5 separate regions of the Homo sapiens genome follow, and regions 2, 3, 4 and 5 are each linked to region 1. Evidence: promoter capture Hi-C in 16 types of primary human blood cells and fetal thymus (Javierre and others, 2016). All regions are on one chromosome and are shown on one strand. The core of a region is centred on a gene start or on the middle of the fragment in contact, and the rest is flanking DNA. Distances in the headings are between cores, read along the strand shown. Region 1 holds the start of LMAN2 (lectin, mannose binding 2). Region 2 overlaps RMND5B (required for meiotic nuclear division 5 homolog B). Region 3 has its middle 32 kb from the start of N4BP3. Region 4 has its middle 10 kb from the start of N4BP3. Region 5 has its middle 2.9 kb from the start of RMND5B.

What was found. The method cuts DNA at HindIII sites, captures the fragments that hold promoters and counts their contacts. A CHiCAGO score of 5 or more calls a contact.
Region 2: a fragment that was not itself captured here is called in contact with the fragment with the promoter of LMAN2 in region 1 in 2 of 17 cell types (naive B cells and total B cells); the score reaches 7.8 in naive B cells.
Region 3: a fragment that was not itself captured here is called in contact with the fragment with the promoter of LMAN2 in region 1 in 1 of 17 cell types (total B cells); the score reaches 7.4 in total B cells.
Region 4: a contact is called between a fragment that was not itself captured here and the fragment with the promoter of LMAN2 in region 1, in 1 of 17 cell types (total B cells). The highest score is 5.4, in total B cells.
Region 5: a contact is called between a fragment that was not itself captured here and the fragment with the promoter of LMAN2 in region 1, in 1 of 17 cell types (total B cells). The highest score is 5.5, in total B cells.

Annotation. Positions count from the first base shown.
Region 1 is chr5:177,350,411-177,353,110 of GRCh38, forward strand. LMAN2 (lectin, mannose binding 2) reads right to left here and starts at 1,258. Exons shown (of 8, transcript NM_006816.3): 1 at 1,042-1,258; 2 at 763-881. The coding sequence starts at 1,237. RefSeq lists enhancers at 1,199-1,388, 1,399-1,448 and a silencer at 1,343-1,557. The HindIII fragment of the contact is 10,936 bases long and covers 1-2,700 here.
Region 2 is chr5:178,148,793-178,151,557 of GRCh38, forward strand. It overlaps RMND5B (required for meiotic nuclear division 5 homolog B), which reads left to right. Exons shown (of 11, transcript NM_022762.5): 11 at 1-1,776. It overlaps NHP2 (NHP2 ribonucleoprotein), which reads right to left. Exons shown (of 4, transcript NM_017838.4): 3 at 2,096-2,201; 4 at 671-1,046. The coding sequence ends at 921. Among named protein-coding and RNA genes, the nearest start is that of NHP2, 3.7 kb to the right of the region's middle. RefSeq lists an enhancer at 2,160-2,661. The HindIII fragment of the contact is 2,325 bases long and covers 334-2,658 here.
Region 3 is chr5:178,079,785-178,082,484 of GRCh38, forward strand. No RefSeq gene overlaps it. Among named protein-coding and RNA genes, the nearest start is that of N4BP3, 32 kb to the right of the region's middle. RefSeq lists a cis regulatory region at 1,893-2,565. The HindIII fragment of the contact is 6,225 bases long and covers 1-2,700 here.
Region 4 is chr5:178,101,908-178,104,607 of GRCh38, forward strand. No RefSeq gene overlaps it. Among named protein-coding and RNA genes, the nearest start is that of N4BP3, 10 kb to the right of the region's middle. The HindIII fragment of the contact is 5,559 bases long and covers 1-2,700 here.
Region 5 is chr5:178,126,784-178,129,483 of GRCh38, forward strand. It overlaps a transcript of N4BP3 not described here. Among named protein-coding and RNA genes, the nearest start is that of RMND5B, 2.9 kb to the right of the region's middle. RefSeq lists enhancers at 1-416, 1,079-1,739. The HindIII fragment of the contact is 2,238 bases long and covers 294-2,531 here.

The sequences.
Region 1 (2,700 bases), core at 8-2,507:
TGGATTCTGTGTAGCAGCTGTCATTGGCCACTGCTCACATACTACATACTACATACTCTGAGGCAAAGGTCACAGACACTAGAACTGCCCACAGGTCCAGTCCCTCCACACTACTGATGACAAGACCCTCAACCAAGCATTGCAAAAAGGGTTCTAAGGGGTTCCTCCACTGTCCAGGTGAAAAGAGTCAAGTACATCGAGTGAACTGCTGGGCTTAGAGATCAGACAAATCAGAGTTTAAATACTGTTTATGACATTTGCTAGCTGGGTTATCTTTGTATAGTCATGAAAGCCATCTATTTCAAACAGCTTGTTTGAAAATTAAATGCAATAAGGCATGGCAAGGTCAGTGCCTAATACACAGCAAAACACCCAATAAAGATCCAGTTCGCTCGGTTCTTCCCATTACTGAGGGGGTTCAAGGCAGACAGCCTGACAGTTCCACTACTTTCTGGCTATGTAACTTTGGGTAAGGCCCTTTCAAACCTGAGTCTTAGCTTCTCAGTGGGTAAAATGGAGATAACATTACTCATCTCGCATGGCTTTTAAAGTGAGGAGGATGTAAAGTGTCAAGCGCAGCTCCTGACACATAGTAAGTACCCAATACCCATCGCCTCTTATTATTGGTGGGTGTGACCGAGATGAGGAAAAGGCCAGGGACGGAGGTGCAAACCTATAAACGAAGCTGGGGTCTCAGCTGCTCGGGAGGCAGGGACTAGCAGCCAACCGCACAGTACGCCTATCCTCTTGAGAACCACTCACCTGGTGGTTCCAGATAGAGCCCTCTTTGCTGCGCTCGTCAGGGGTCAGACGTACGTACTGGCTCGTGAGCATAGTGCTGCCCTGGAAGTCCCAGAGGGGCATAGAGCTGGAACCGACCCCTGTGGGAAGAGACAGGTGCTAAGAGGCCACGCCAGGACTGGCCTCACCAGAGGCAGGAAACCCACAGAGATGCTCTGCTCAGGAGAAAGGGCACGCCTTCCCCTAGCCCTGTTCAGCCTCGCCCTCACTCTTCACTCATTCCCGCCCCAAGGGCTTCACCTTGGTAGGGCTTAATGAGCGAATGCTCCCGCTTGAGATGTTCACTGTTGCCGTCAGTTATATCCGCAGTCACAGACCCCAACAACAAAAGAAGAAAGAGAGGTGTAGTGGGGCCAGGGCCGGGGCCGAGAAGCCCAGGCCTTCCCAGGCACCGCCGGCCCCAGCCCCAACGCCAAATCCAGCCTTCCGCCGCCATTCTCCTCTCCTCTCGGCCACTTCCGCCCTAGAACTTCCGCCTTCCGGGGGTCCCATCTATTGGCCTCCGGCCGGAAGCTCTTCAACTTTACTGTCGCCAGGGAGTCAAAAAGCAAAGCCTCCGCAGCAGACGGGGCGGCAGCTGCATTGGCCGGGCAGCCTCTCATCCTGGTTGAGTGCAGTTTCATCTCCTTAGAGGCTCCAAGGCACACGCCGGCCAGCCCCAGCAATGGGTTCTTTCGAGCGACAAGAGCTGTAACCAGTCACGGAACAGCACGTTAGGCTTGCGAGCCAATGAGGAGCAGAGGGATGGTTGGAGCCGGCGGGAGCGCGAGGGCCGTCCGCGACTCGGGGCATGCTGGAATTTGTAGTTTTTGTCGGTCGCTCTAATGGGGCGGATTCGCGAAGACTAGGACGTCTTGGGCTTCTGGCCGCAAGTCCCGTCTCTGGAATAACCTTTTCTAGTCCTGGAGAAAGGAGCTCTGAATTGAAGGCGGAGTCCTGCATTCCAACCCTTGTCCTCCCCGGGTGGCCCTGGGCAAGCCTTTAAGCCGTGCCTGCCGTCAGGCGCCCCAGCTTCGCGCCTTTGGAGACTCAGAATTCCCAATTATTTGAGGGCCTCCACTACCCTCAACTCCTCAGGCCTAGTCGGGTTGAAGCAAGAGGAACAGACACAGATCCTGGCCTGGGACCCCAGTGATGACTGGAACTCATCCCTATGCAAAAGAGCGCAGTGCCTGGTACAGCAAGTAACGTCCATGGAAGGCCCAGGAAAGCTGTGAATCAGAGGTCGAAAACTGGTGGCCTGCAGCTGAATAGAGCTCTGTTTTACCTGCCAATATTCTAATAAATGGCTTAACTACCAGTATTTTAAAGTCAGAATATAGAGGCTGGGCGTGGTGGCTCACGCCTGTAATCCCAGCACTTTGGGAGGCTGAGGCCGGCGGATCACGAGATCGGGAGATCGAGACCATCCTGGCTAGCACGGTGAAACCCCGTCTCTACTAAAAAATACAAAAAATTAGCCGGGCGTGGTGGCAGGTGTCTGTAGTCCCAGCTACTCGGGAGGCTGAGCCAGGAGAATGGCTTGAACCCAGGAGGCAGAGCTTGCAGTGAGCCGAAATCGCGTCACTGCACTCCAGCCTGGGCGACAGAGCGAGACTCTGTCACACACACACACACACACACACACACACACACACACACACACAAAGTCGGAATATGTACATTCACATCAGAAATCCAGACTTCCGGCTGAGCTCAGTGGCTGAGGCCTGTAATCCTAGCACTTTGGGAGGCAGAGGCGAGCAGATTACCTGAGCTCAGGAGTTTCAGACCAGCCTGGGCAACACGGTGAAACCCCGTCTCTACTAAAATACAAAAGAAATTAACGGCGTGGTGGCGGACACCTGTAGTCCCAGCTACTCGGGAGGCTGAGGCAGGAGAATTGCTTGAACCCAGGAG
Region 2 (2,765 bases), core at 246-2,745, 800 kb after region 1:
ATAGGAGAAATCCGTGTAATGGGATTCAGGAAAATGAAGTAACTTGCACAACAGGGCTCACAGCTTAGAAAGGAGAGAGCTTGGAGTTTTAACCAGATCTGACCCTCAAGCCCAAGCTATTTCCAGTTTATTCCAGGGTGCCTGAACTTGGCTGTTATGTATACTGAGTCCTGTGCAGGGCCTCTGACAGCAGGAAGGGGCCCCAAGTCTAAAATACTTGAAGGGATTGGGTTACTAGGGCCATTATGTTAAGCAAGAGAGCTCGGGGGAATGCATTTTAGCTTCATATTCCTATTTAAAATGTGCTGTGTGGGTGGGTAAATTGCTTCCATAAGCTTCACAGTGGCATTTAAGGCTCCTGGGTTAAGTTAGGAATGGGGGTGTTCCTGATGTGGGGGCTTTAGGCTTCCATGAAGTGGGTCTGGGCCCCCTGCCTTACCTCACAGCCCCCATCTACCCTGGAAGAGGGAGTTGAAAATGCTGGGATAGCAGCAGGATCAGTTCTCAGCTTGAGCCAAAGCACCCGGCCCTGGGCAGCTGAGCATCAGCACAGAACCCTCTGAGTCCTTTGGGCTCTCTGCTGAGGAAGACTGCTTCACTCTTCCCGCCCACCAACTCGCTGGCCCAACCAGCAGCTGCTGCTTAAGAAAACACCCACAGACTCACCACATTTTAGTCTTAGCATTTACTTTCCCCACCCCACATTCTTGGAACAGCCTTTAGTTCTACAGGAAATGGCACTGATGGACAGAAGACTAGCATTACCTTCATGAAAGGGCTGTTAGAGCTGCCTGGGAAGAAGGCGTGCCTTGGGGAACTGGGAAGATGCCGTCAGTGTGGGTGGGCAGGAGGACAGCCAGTCGTCCTGCTGCCAGCCCAATAGCTTCCAGCGGCAGGTGCCCAGGTGCTACCGGAGCCCCTCATAGGGGTAGGGGCAGGGACTGCACCTCCTCCAGGCACTCATCGTAAGCCTCCTGGTACTCCTCATGGGGCTTGACCATTATCACACAGGTGGGGCGCTTGGAGCCTGCGGCTGCACCCAGGTCCTACAGAGGGGAAAGAAGTGCTGTTTGGAAAAAAGCTGTACAACCTGTATGCCAGGAAGTCACCAACTGATGACCCACCAGCCTAATCTGGCCCACAACCATGTTCTGTTCGGTCCATGTTCTATTTAAAAGCATCTTGAATTGGTTGCCATCATTTAAACTCAATCAGACTTTGAAGGCATGGTCCAGCCACACAGGGCCTACATTCCCACATGGCAACTATGAAAGGGCTCCAGCCCAGCAGGGGCTGTCCCGGTCCCTGCCACCCCCACTTCCTGTGCCTCAGATCTGGCCCCTGTTACGTAAGATAAGGACAGCTACAGGTCCCTCTGAGCCTAAACCCACCTAACCGGACTAACATGGGTGAAGCATCTTAGCTTACAAAGCTCTTTCACATACATCTATCTCTTTATTCTCATAGTCCACAGATAACTGACTATTTGGTTCTTACCATCAGGCCAAACGGTAAGTTCCTTCAGAACAGGGCCTCCTGCTTTATCCCAAGAAGTGATACTGTAGGTACCCAAGATCCACCCCCAGCCTCTATTTTTTTTTTTTGAGACAGGGCCTCACTCTGTCATGCAGTCTGGAGTGTGGTGGTGTATGATCATGGCTCACTGCAGCCTTGAACTCCTGGGTTCAAGTGATCTCCTGCTTTAGCCTCCCAAGTGGCTGGGACTACAGGCATGTGCCACCACACCCAGCTAATTAAAAAAATTTTTTTTGTAGAGATGGAGTCTCACTTTGTTGCGCAGGTTATTCCTGAACTCCTGTCCTCAACTGATCCTCCTGTCTTGGCCTCCCAAAGCACTAGGATTACAGGTGTGAGCCACAGCGCCTGGGCTGGGATTCCCACTTTACAAGATGGGAACTGAAATGCAAGAAGTAACATATCTGTAGTCCCAAAACTAAGAAGATGTGGAGCTGAGAATCCATCCAGGCCTGTCTTAGCTCCAACACTCCTGGCTCTTTCCCACACTCTCCTGCTATGGCAGACTATCCCAGACACCCCAGTGCTGAGCAAGGTCAGGGGGCCACGTGCTCCTTACCGTCTTAGAGGGGATATAGACATAGGGCAAATTTCGGTCCTCACACATGACTGGGAGATGGCAGTATACCTCAATGGGCAGTGTGTCTCCTGCCAAAACCATGATCCTGAAATGAGAGAAAACACTGTCATCTCTGGCTTGCTCCTTCCTTCTTTCAGTTTTAAGTGCTGCCCTGGGCTGGGTCTTAGGGATAGAGACAAAATTGTGTTTGGTGAGCACACTATTTGGGGGTGATCTCTACCTCTTGGCAACATACAGGTGCCACCAAAGTGATGTAGTGCTCGGACAGGTGAAGTACAGGATGGGTGCCAAGGTGTATGAGCTCAGCTCTCTTTGGAGAGTCAAAAAAGGGTTCAACCAGGAGGTGACACTTGAACAGCACGCTGATGGATGACTGTGTGGCAGGCAGCCCACGGAGGGGCTGGGGCGGGGGAGAGCATGTGGTGTGAGAATCAGAACGGCACCAGACACAGCCGAGAGACTGGCAGGGGACACCCCCAAGACCTTGAGTACCAGGCTAAGAAGCATGGGCTCTGTCCCAAGAGTGACAGTGAGGCAATGAAAGCTTGCCAGAGACTCAGCCAGGGTTCCTAGCTGGCCAGGTGTCAAGGCTGGGGGGCAAGGGCCTCAGGAGCCTAAGACACAGAAGGAAAAGTCTGCTCTCCCATGC
Region 3 (2,700 bases), core at 195-2,694, 730 kb after region 1:
AACATGGCAAAACCCCATCTCTATTAAAAATACAAAAATTAGCCGGGTGTGGTGGCACTTGTCTGTAGTCCCAGCTACTTGGGAGGCTGAGGTGGGAGAATCACCTAAGCCAGGGAGGTTGAGGCTGCAGTGAGCAGAGATCACACCACTGCACACCTGCCTGGGCAACCAGAGTGAGACCCTGTCTCAAAAAGATAAATAAATAAAATTTGCTGGGTGTGGTCGCGTTGCCTGTGGTCACAGCTACTTGGGAGGCTGGGGTGGGAGGACAGATTGAGCACAGGACTTCCAAACCAACCCGCAGTGCCCTGACCAGCCAGCTGTCTCCCTCTCCCACCCCTCTTCCTCACCGAAGCCCAGGGCACCCTCATCACCCTGTTGTCAGCCCCTGCCCTAGGGACTTACTGTGGCCAGACCTCAATGCCAGGCCTGGCCCCTCCTGGAGAGCACGCAGGCCAGGGCCTTGTCTCATGCACCCATTGGCTTCTCCCCTCCTTTCTCACCCACTCCTCCACACTTTCGCTCAAGCCAAGCCTGCCTCAAGGTGCCTTCTTCCTCCCCTGCCCGCATCTTACGTCCTCTCTGAGGCCTTCCCTGGTGGCTAAGCCCACAGTGGTGTCCCTCACGTGCTTGGCCAGTACTACGTGTAAAATGGGGAGAATGACAGACCAAACTCAAAGAGTGTCTGAGGAATGAATGAGGGGACTCGGGTCAAGTGCTTGGAGTAGAAGCTGGCACACAGCAGTGCTTGATGAACATCAGAGCCATGCATTATTATTAATATCACTCTTAATATCCCATTTCATGCTGAATCCACACGCTGCCTGGTGCTCTCTTTCACATTTGCTAATCACATCTCTCCAATTGAGTGAGGAAGCAGAAAGGACCCTGGAGGCAGAGACTGGTGGACCTGGATCTGAATTCCATGTTTCCCATGTGTTACCCCAGGGAAGTCACATAACCTTTCTTGGCCTCTGTTTTTGAGTCTGTAAAATGGAGCTAATGAGTCCCCATCCTCAGGGCTGTGATAAGGATCTGATGAGGCAATGTCTGCGAAAGCTCTAAGTAAACTGGGAAGAAATGCTGTGAGAACGACCGTTGCCGGGGAGGAAATTCCAGGCCAGCCATGGTGTTGCTGGAGTCAAGGGCCAGGTGGTTCTGCTTTTGATCAGATCTAGAATGTCCACAAATGGCTAGTCTGTGCCAGACTTTTGAAGTATGAAGTACACTGTAAAGTCACCTCTAAACCTCTCCACTTGTCCCCTCCAGTCTGTCCCCGGCTGCTCTCTGCACCAACTGGCCCTTTTCATTCTCTCCTGGTATCCCAGCCTCCTGACCTCCCTTCCCAGACTCTGCCCACTTAAGTCAATCTCTGCACTGTGGCCAGCATGATCTACCTTCCTGCAGCCCATTCACTCATTCGCTCACTCATACATTACACAATTGTTTATTCAGTTATTACCAGGTGTTCTGGAAATAAAACAGACCAAAATCCCTGCCCTGATGGGTTTTACATTCTAGCAAAATACAGACTTATTATGTAACCTCTGTGCTTTAAAAACTCAACTGGTTTTCCAATTATGCTGGAGTCAACAAAAGTCTTGGCAGGGCGCGGTGGCTCACGCCTGTAATCCCGGCACTTTGGGAGGCTGAGGTGGTCAGATCACGAGGTCAGGAGATCGAGACCATCCTGGTCAACATGGTGAAACCCCGTCTCCACTAAACATACGAAAAGTAGCTGGGTGTGGTGGCACATGCCTGTAGTCCCAGCTACTCCGGAGACTGAGGCAGGAGAATTGCTTGAACCAGGGTGTCGGAGGTTGCAGTGTGCTGAGATTGCGGCACTGCACTCCAGCCTGGTGACAAAGCCAGACTCAGTCTCAGAAAAAAAAAAAAAAAGTCTTGAGCGTAGCCTCCAGGACAGTTTGTGGTCAGCCTCTGCTCCCTTTCAGCTCCCTCCCCGCCTTCCCAGAAGGGAAGGCTGCCTTGGGCTCCAGGTGGGCCACGCCCCTTCAGACGCAGTGACCTTGCTTTGGTTGTTTTCGCAGTCTGGAAAGTCCTCTTTTAAGTTACAGGTTGCTGAATGTTTTCTCCGTAGAGGAGTTTATTCTCAGTCTGGCCTGGTAGCCCAGGTCAGGGGCCTCTCCTCCCCTGAGGTGTGCAGACAGACAAGTCACCCGGAGGCTCCTGACAAGGACTCTGCTTGACCCAATATTAGTCGGGCCCCTGAGGCTTCTCCTAGACCCATCTGTGTGCTTCCTTATACAATCCAGTTTTAGCAAGAACCCTGCTAGCTCACTGTGGCAGAAACCCCCCACCCTCCATATCTGATCACCCTTGATATCTGGTCAGGCTTCTCCTCCCCATCACCCCTCTGGTGATGTCTGGTCACCCTAGCCTGTCTTCAGCTAGAATCGTGTTAGGTGAGTTTAGCTAGAATCCCCGACCCCTGATGTTGCTCTTAGTAATTCCCCATCCCCTGGCCCCCACCCTGCTCCTTGGCTATCACCCCCCACTCGCCCATGCTGTACTGGGAGTTGAGCCCAGTCTCTCTCCCCAACTGCAAGAGCCCACTCCAGCAGTTCCTGTGTCTATCTCCATGGTCCTGAATAAAGTCTGCCTTACTGTGCTTTTTTTTCTTTTTTTTTTTTTTTTTTGAGATGGAGTCTCACTGTGTCACCTAGGCTGGAGTGCAGTGGC
Region 4 (2,700 bases), core at 92-2,591, 750 kb after region 1:
TTAAAACAGGCTGGGCGCAGTGGCTCATGCCTGTAATCCCGGCACTTTGGGAGGCCAAGAGGGGCAGATCACGAGACCAGAAGTTTGAGACCAGCCTGGCCAACATCGTGAAACCCCGTCTCTATTAAAAAGAAATACAAAAATTAGCTGGGTGTGGTGGCGTGCACCTGTAGTCCCAGCTACATTGGGAGGCTGAAGCAGGAGAATTGCTTGAACCTGGAAAGCAGAGGTTGCAGTGAGCTGAGACCACACCATTACACTCCAGCCTGGGTGATAGAGTGAGACCCTGTCTCAAAAAAAAAAAAACAACTTAAAACAAAAAAATCAGCCAGGCAGGCGCGGTGGCTGGCTCACGCCTGTAATCCCAGCACTTTGGGAGGCCGAGGCGGGCAGATCACGAGGTCAGGAGATCGAGACCATCCTGGCTAACACAGTGAAACCCCGTCTCTACTAAAAATGCAAAAAATTAGCTGGGTGTGGTGGCGGGTGCCTGTAGTCCCAGCTACTAGGGAGGCTGAGACAGGAGAATGGCGTGAACCCGGGAGGCGGAGCTTGCAGTGGCTGGAGATTGCAACACTGCTCTCCAGCCTGGGCAACAAGGGCAAAACTCCGTCTCAAAAAAAAAAAAAAAAATCACCCAGAGACATATCCTGGCATATTTTCTTCCTGTTCCTTTTCTTACGTGGGGGTGACATTTTCTGCTCCACCTAAGGAAGGTCGTGGCAGACACATGATTCTACACCACTACATTGAAGTATCATGACCAGCCGGGGGCGGTGGCTCATGCCTGTAATCCCAGCACTTTGGGAGGCCAAGGCGGTGGATCACTTGAGGTCAGGAGTTCGAGACCAGCCTGGCCAATATGGTGAAACCCTGTCTTTACTAAAAATGCAAAACAATTAGCCGGGCGTGGTGGCGCATGCCTGTAGTCTCAGTTACTTGGGAGGCTGAGGCACAAGAATCGCTTGAACTCGGGAGGCAGAGGTTGCAGTGAGCCGTGATCATGCCACTGCACTCCAGCCTGGGTGACAGAGTGAGACTCTGTCTCAAAAAAAAAAAAAGAAAAGAAAATGAAATATCTTGACAGGCATCATCACTCTCATTTCACCAACAGAGAAATTAAGGCCTAGGGCAGGTCAAAGAAATTAAGAAGGGCCAGGGCTGAATGTGAATGCAGGTCCCTGAGGCCAAGTTCCAGAATCTCACCACGCCAGGATTCTTGGTGGTTTTTTTTTTTTTGAGATGGACTCTCACTCTGTCATCCAGGCTGGAGTGCAGTGGTGCGATCTCGGCTCACCACAACCTCCGCCTCCCGGGTTCAAGCCATTCTCCTGCCTCAGCCTCCCAAGTAGCTGGGATTACAGGAGCACACCACCACGCCCGGCCAATTTTTGTAATTTTAGTAGAGACGGGGTTTCACTATGTTGGTCAGGCTGGTCTCAAACTCCTGACCTCATGATCCACGCCCCCCTCGGCCTCCCACAGTGCTGGGATTACAGGCATGAGCCACCGCGCCCCGCCCCACACCAGAATTCTTTCGAGGAAGTTCATTCCCTCACTCCTGCACACATTCACTTAAGCATGCCGAGGGCCTTGTGGGTCCTGGCCTGTGACAGACCGGGGGTGAAAGAGTCTAGGTGGCCACAGTCCTGCCGTCAACCAGCTTCCATTCTAAAGGCTTAATGTCTGCAACCCAGGGCGCCCGCTACCCAGCCTGGCCCAGCAGGAGTGAGTGGGGAAGGAGATATGCCCCTTCAAAAGGACTCACTCACTGCCCAGCTGTCAGCACCTTCCGGGTCCCCTCAGCTCTCAGATCGAGGCCACCCTGTTCCCTGGTGGCCAGTGACTGAGCAAGGCAGTGGTATTGTTGCAAGATGAGCCGCAGACAAAACTCCTCAGACACTGAGTTAAAGAAGGAAGGGGTTTACTCGGCCAGGGGCATCGGCAAGACTCCTGTCTCAAGGGCCGAGCTCCCCGAGTGGGCAATTCCTGTCCCTTTTAAGAGCTCACAACTCTAAGGGGGTGCGCGTGAGAGGGTTAGGAGGTACGTGACTGGGGGCTGCATGCGCCAGTAATTAGTCGGGAACAAAGCAGGATAGGGATTTTCACAGTGCTTTTCTATACGATGTCTGTAATCTACAGATAACATCAACCATTAGGTCGGGGTCGATCTTTAACTACCAGGCCCAGGGTGTGGTGCTGGGCTGTCTGCTTGTGGATTTCATTTCTGCCTTTTAGTTTTTACTTTTTCTTTCTTTGGAGGCAGAAATTGGGCATAAGACAATATGAGGGGTGGTCTCCTCCCTTAGTATCAGGACCTTTTCTAACGGGGGACTCCTCTGTCAGGCACTTCGATCCAGAGCTCTTCTGCTGGTGCCCTCTGCCCAATCGCCTTCCTCCCCATTTTTTTTTTTCCTTTTTGAGACAGGGTCTTGCTCTGTTGCCCAGGCTGGTCACTGTTCCCTCTGGTGCATTCTTTGTCCCCGTCAACCTGGTAAGCTCCAGGGGCTGGCAGCTGGCACAGAGTAGGAGGCTGCACTCCCTGACTTTTCTATGCTGCACACAGTCCTGTGCCCACCCTGTCCTCAGACCTGCCAGGGCCATGACCAACCTGCCAAGGGCATGGGAAACTGTGTGTAAGACAGCTCTAGGAGGAGGTGGAGCAGGCGGAAGGTAGGGGAAGCTGCTGCCCCAGTAGGT
Region 5 (2,700 bases), core at 163-2,662, 780 kb after region 1:
TACCATCTCTTCTGAGGACTGGGCTGCTTGAGAGGTTTTATCTGCATGACAAGACAGCCTTTGTTTGCCATGCATTTCCTCCCCTCAACCTCCTAGCGTCTGCTGCCACCTCCTCCCAGAAACCTCAGGCCCCAGTTTTTGGAGCTCAAATGCTATTTAGACTTCATCAGTCTGGCCCTTACTAGAGTCTCACATTTTGTGGGACTCCTGTGCATGTATGTAATAAATTTGCATGCCTTTTCTCCTATTAATCTGTCTACTGTCAATTTTATTCCAGAGACTCAAATTATTGAAGCTTCGGAGAATACAGGGAATGTTTAAAACTTCTACGCTGGCAAAAAGTTAATTCAATTATTACTGAATTAATGGGAGAATTGATTGCTTTGAAGGAATCCTCCCCATCCCTAACAAAAATCAAAAACAATCCCTATGGGGAAAGATGGACAAAGTCAACTATTTAATACAACTTGGTGCACACTTGAAAATAATACCAAGATGCAAGGATGGCCACATACTGGGGGAGAACCTCAACTTTGCTCACATCCTTCTTGGCTGTGAGGCAGGCCAAGGCTCCCGGAGAGGAAGTGGGGAAGCCTGGGGCATTTGCCAAAGCCTGTGAGGTCAGGTTGGCTGGAAGGTGGCTTGGGCCCCTTGGCACCAAGGCAAGGTTCAATCAACTCTCCACCCCTATGGCTTCCGTTTGGGCCAGGGCCACCCAGGCTCCTCATGCTTGGGCAGGCATCTCTGGGATCCGCCCTCCTGACGCCCCTGCAGGCACACAGTCCTGCTGTGGGCCTTCTCCCCTGCTATATATCATAAGGTTTTTGAGCCGCAGTTTCCTTATGTATACGTGGAGGACACTGGCTTCTTGAGTATCTCTGAGTACCTCCTGTGTGCAAAGCATATGGTGTTGGCGATAAGGCAGTGATGAAGACAAAACATGGGCCTGGTGGAATTTTTTTTTTTGTTGTTCGTTTTTGTTTTGTTTTGAGACAGGGTCTCACTCTGTTGCCCAGGCTGGAGTGTAGTGGTGCAATCTTGGCTCACCGCAACCTCCGCCTCCCGGGCTCAAGCGATTCTCCTGCCTCGGCCTCCGAAGTAGCTGGGATTACAGGTGTCTGCCACTATGCCTGGCTAATTTTTTTTTTTTTTTGTATTTTCAGTAGAGACAGGGTTTCACCATGTTGGCCAGGCTGGTCTTGAATTCCTGACCTCAAATGATCCACCCGCCTTGGCCTCCCAAAGTACTGGGATTACAGGTATGAGCCACCACGCCTGGCCCATGTTTGTTTGTTTTTGAGACAGGGTCTCTCACACTCTGTTATCTAGGCTGGAGTAGTGGCGCGATCACTGCTCACTGCAGCCTCGACCTCCTAGGCAGCCTCCCATCTCAGCCTCCCAAGTAGCTGAGACTACAGATGTGCACCACCACACCCGGCTAATTTTTGTATTATTTGTACAGACAGGGTCTCCCTATGTTGTCCAGACTGGTCTAGAACTCCTAGGCACAAGCATTCCTCCCTCCTCAGCCTCCTAAAGTGCTGGGATTACAGGCGTGAGCCACCATGTCTGGCCCCAAAGAGGGTGATGGGAGTGGGGGCCAGAAGACAGAATGAACAAATAAACACGCAAGATAACTTCCAAGTGCTATAAAGAAAACAGGTCGGCTGGGTGCGGTGGCTCACGCCTGTAGTCCCAGCACTTCGGGAGGCCGAAGCAGGCGGATCGCGAGGTTAGGAGTTCAAGACCAGCCTGGCCAGCATGGTGAAACCCCGTCTCTACTAACAATACAAAAAATTAGCCAGGCATGGTGGTGTGCACCTGTAGTCCCAGCTACTCAGGAGGCTGAAGCAGGAGAATTGCTTGAACCTGGCAGGCGGAGGTTGCAGTGAGCCAAGATTATGCCATTGTACTCCAGCCTGGGCGACAGAGCAAGACTCCGTCTCAAAAAAAAAAAAAAAAAAGAAAACAGGGCAAGGAATGGTGGCTCATTCCTGTAATCCCAATACTTCCAAAGGCTGAGAGGGGAGGATCTCTTGAGGCCAAGAGTTCGCAACCAGCTTGGGCAACATAGGGAGACCACCTCTCTATTTTGAAAAAAAAAAAAAAAGTAAGTTGTGCAAAGGGGAGGGAGGGGAAGGCATGGAGGATTCAAGGGGAGGATGGCCTGGAATGAGGCCCAACCAAAAAGGGAGCAGAAGTGGGCAACACAGAGACCTGGCTTTTTCTCCAGGGCTGTTCCTAGTCCCAGCTGAGGCCTGAGGAGGAGTGGGGACTTCTCTACTCTTTCCCTCCAGAGCAGAGGGTCCGGGATAGAAAATTCAATCTGGGGCTGGGTGTGGTGGTTCATGCCTGTAATCCCAGCAATTTGGGAGGCTGTGGTGGGTGGATCACCTGAGGTCAGGAGTTTGAGACCAGCCTGGCCAACATGGCAAAATCCCCTCTCTACTAAAAATACAAAAATTAGCCGGGCATGGTGGAGCATGTCTGTAATCTGTTACTCATGGAGCTGAGGCAGGACAATCGCTCGAAGCTTGGAGGTGGAGGTTGCAGTGAACCGAGATCACACCACTGCACTCCAGCCTGGGCAACAGAGCAAGACTTCATCTCAAAAAAAGAAAAAGAAAATTCAGTCTGGACCTGGGTTTGGGGTCAGTGCCTGTTCCCTCCTCCTTCCTAACCCTCACCCTTCCTCCTTAG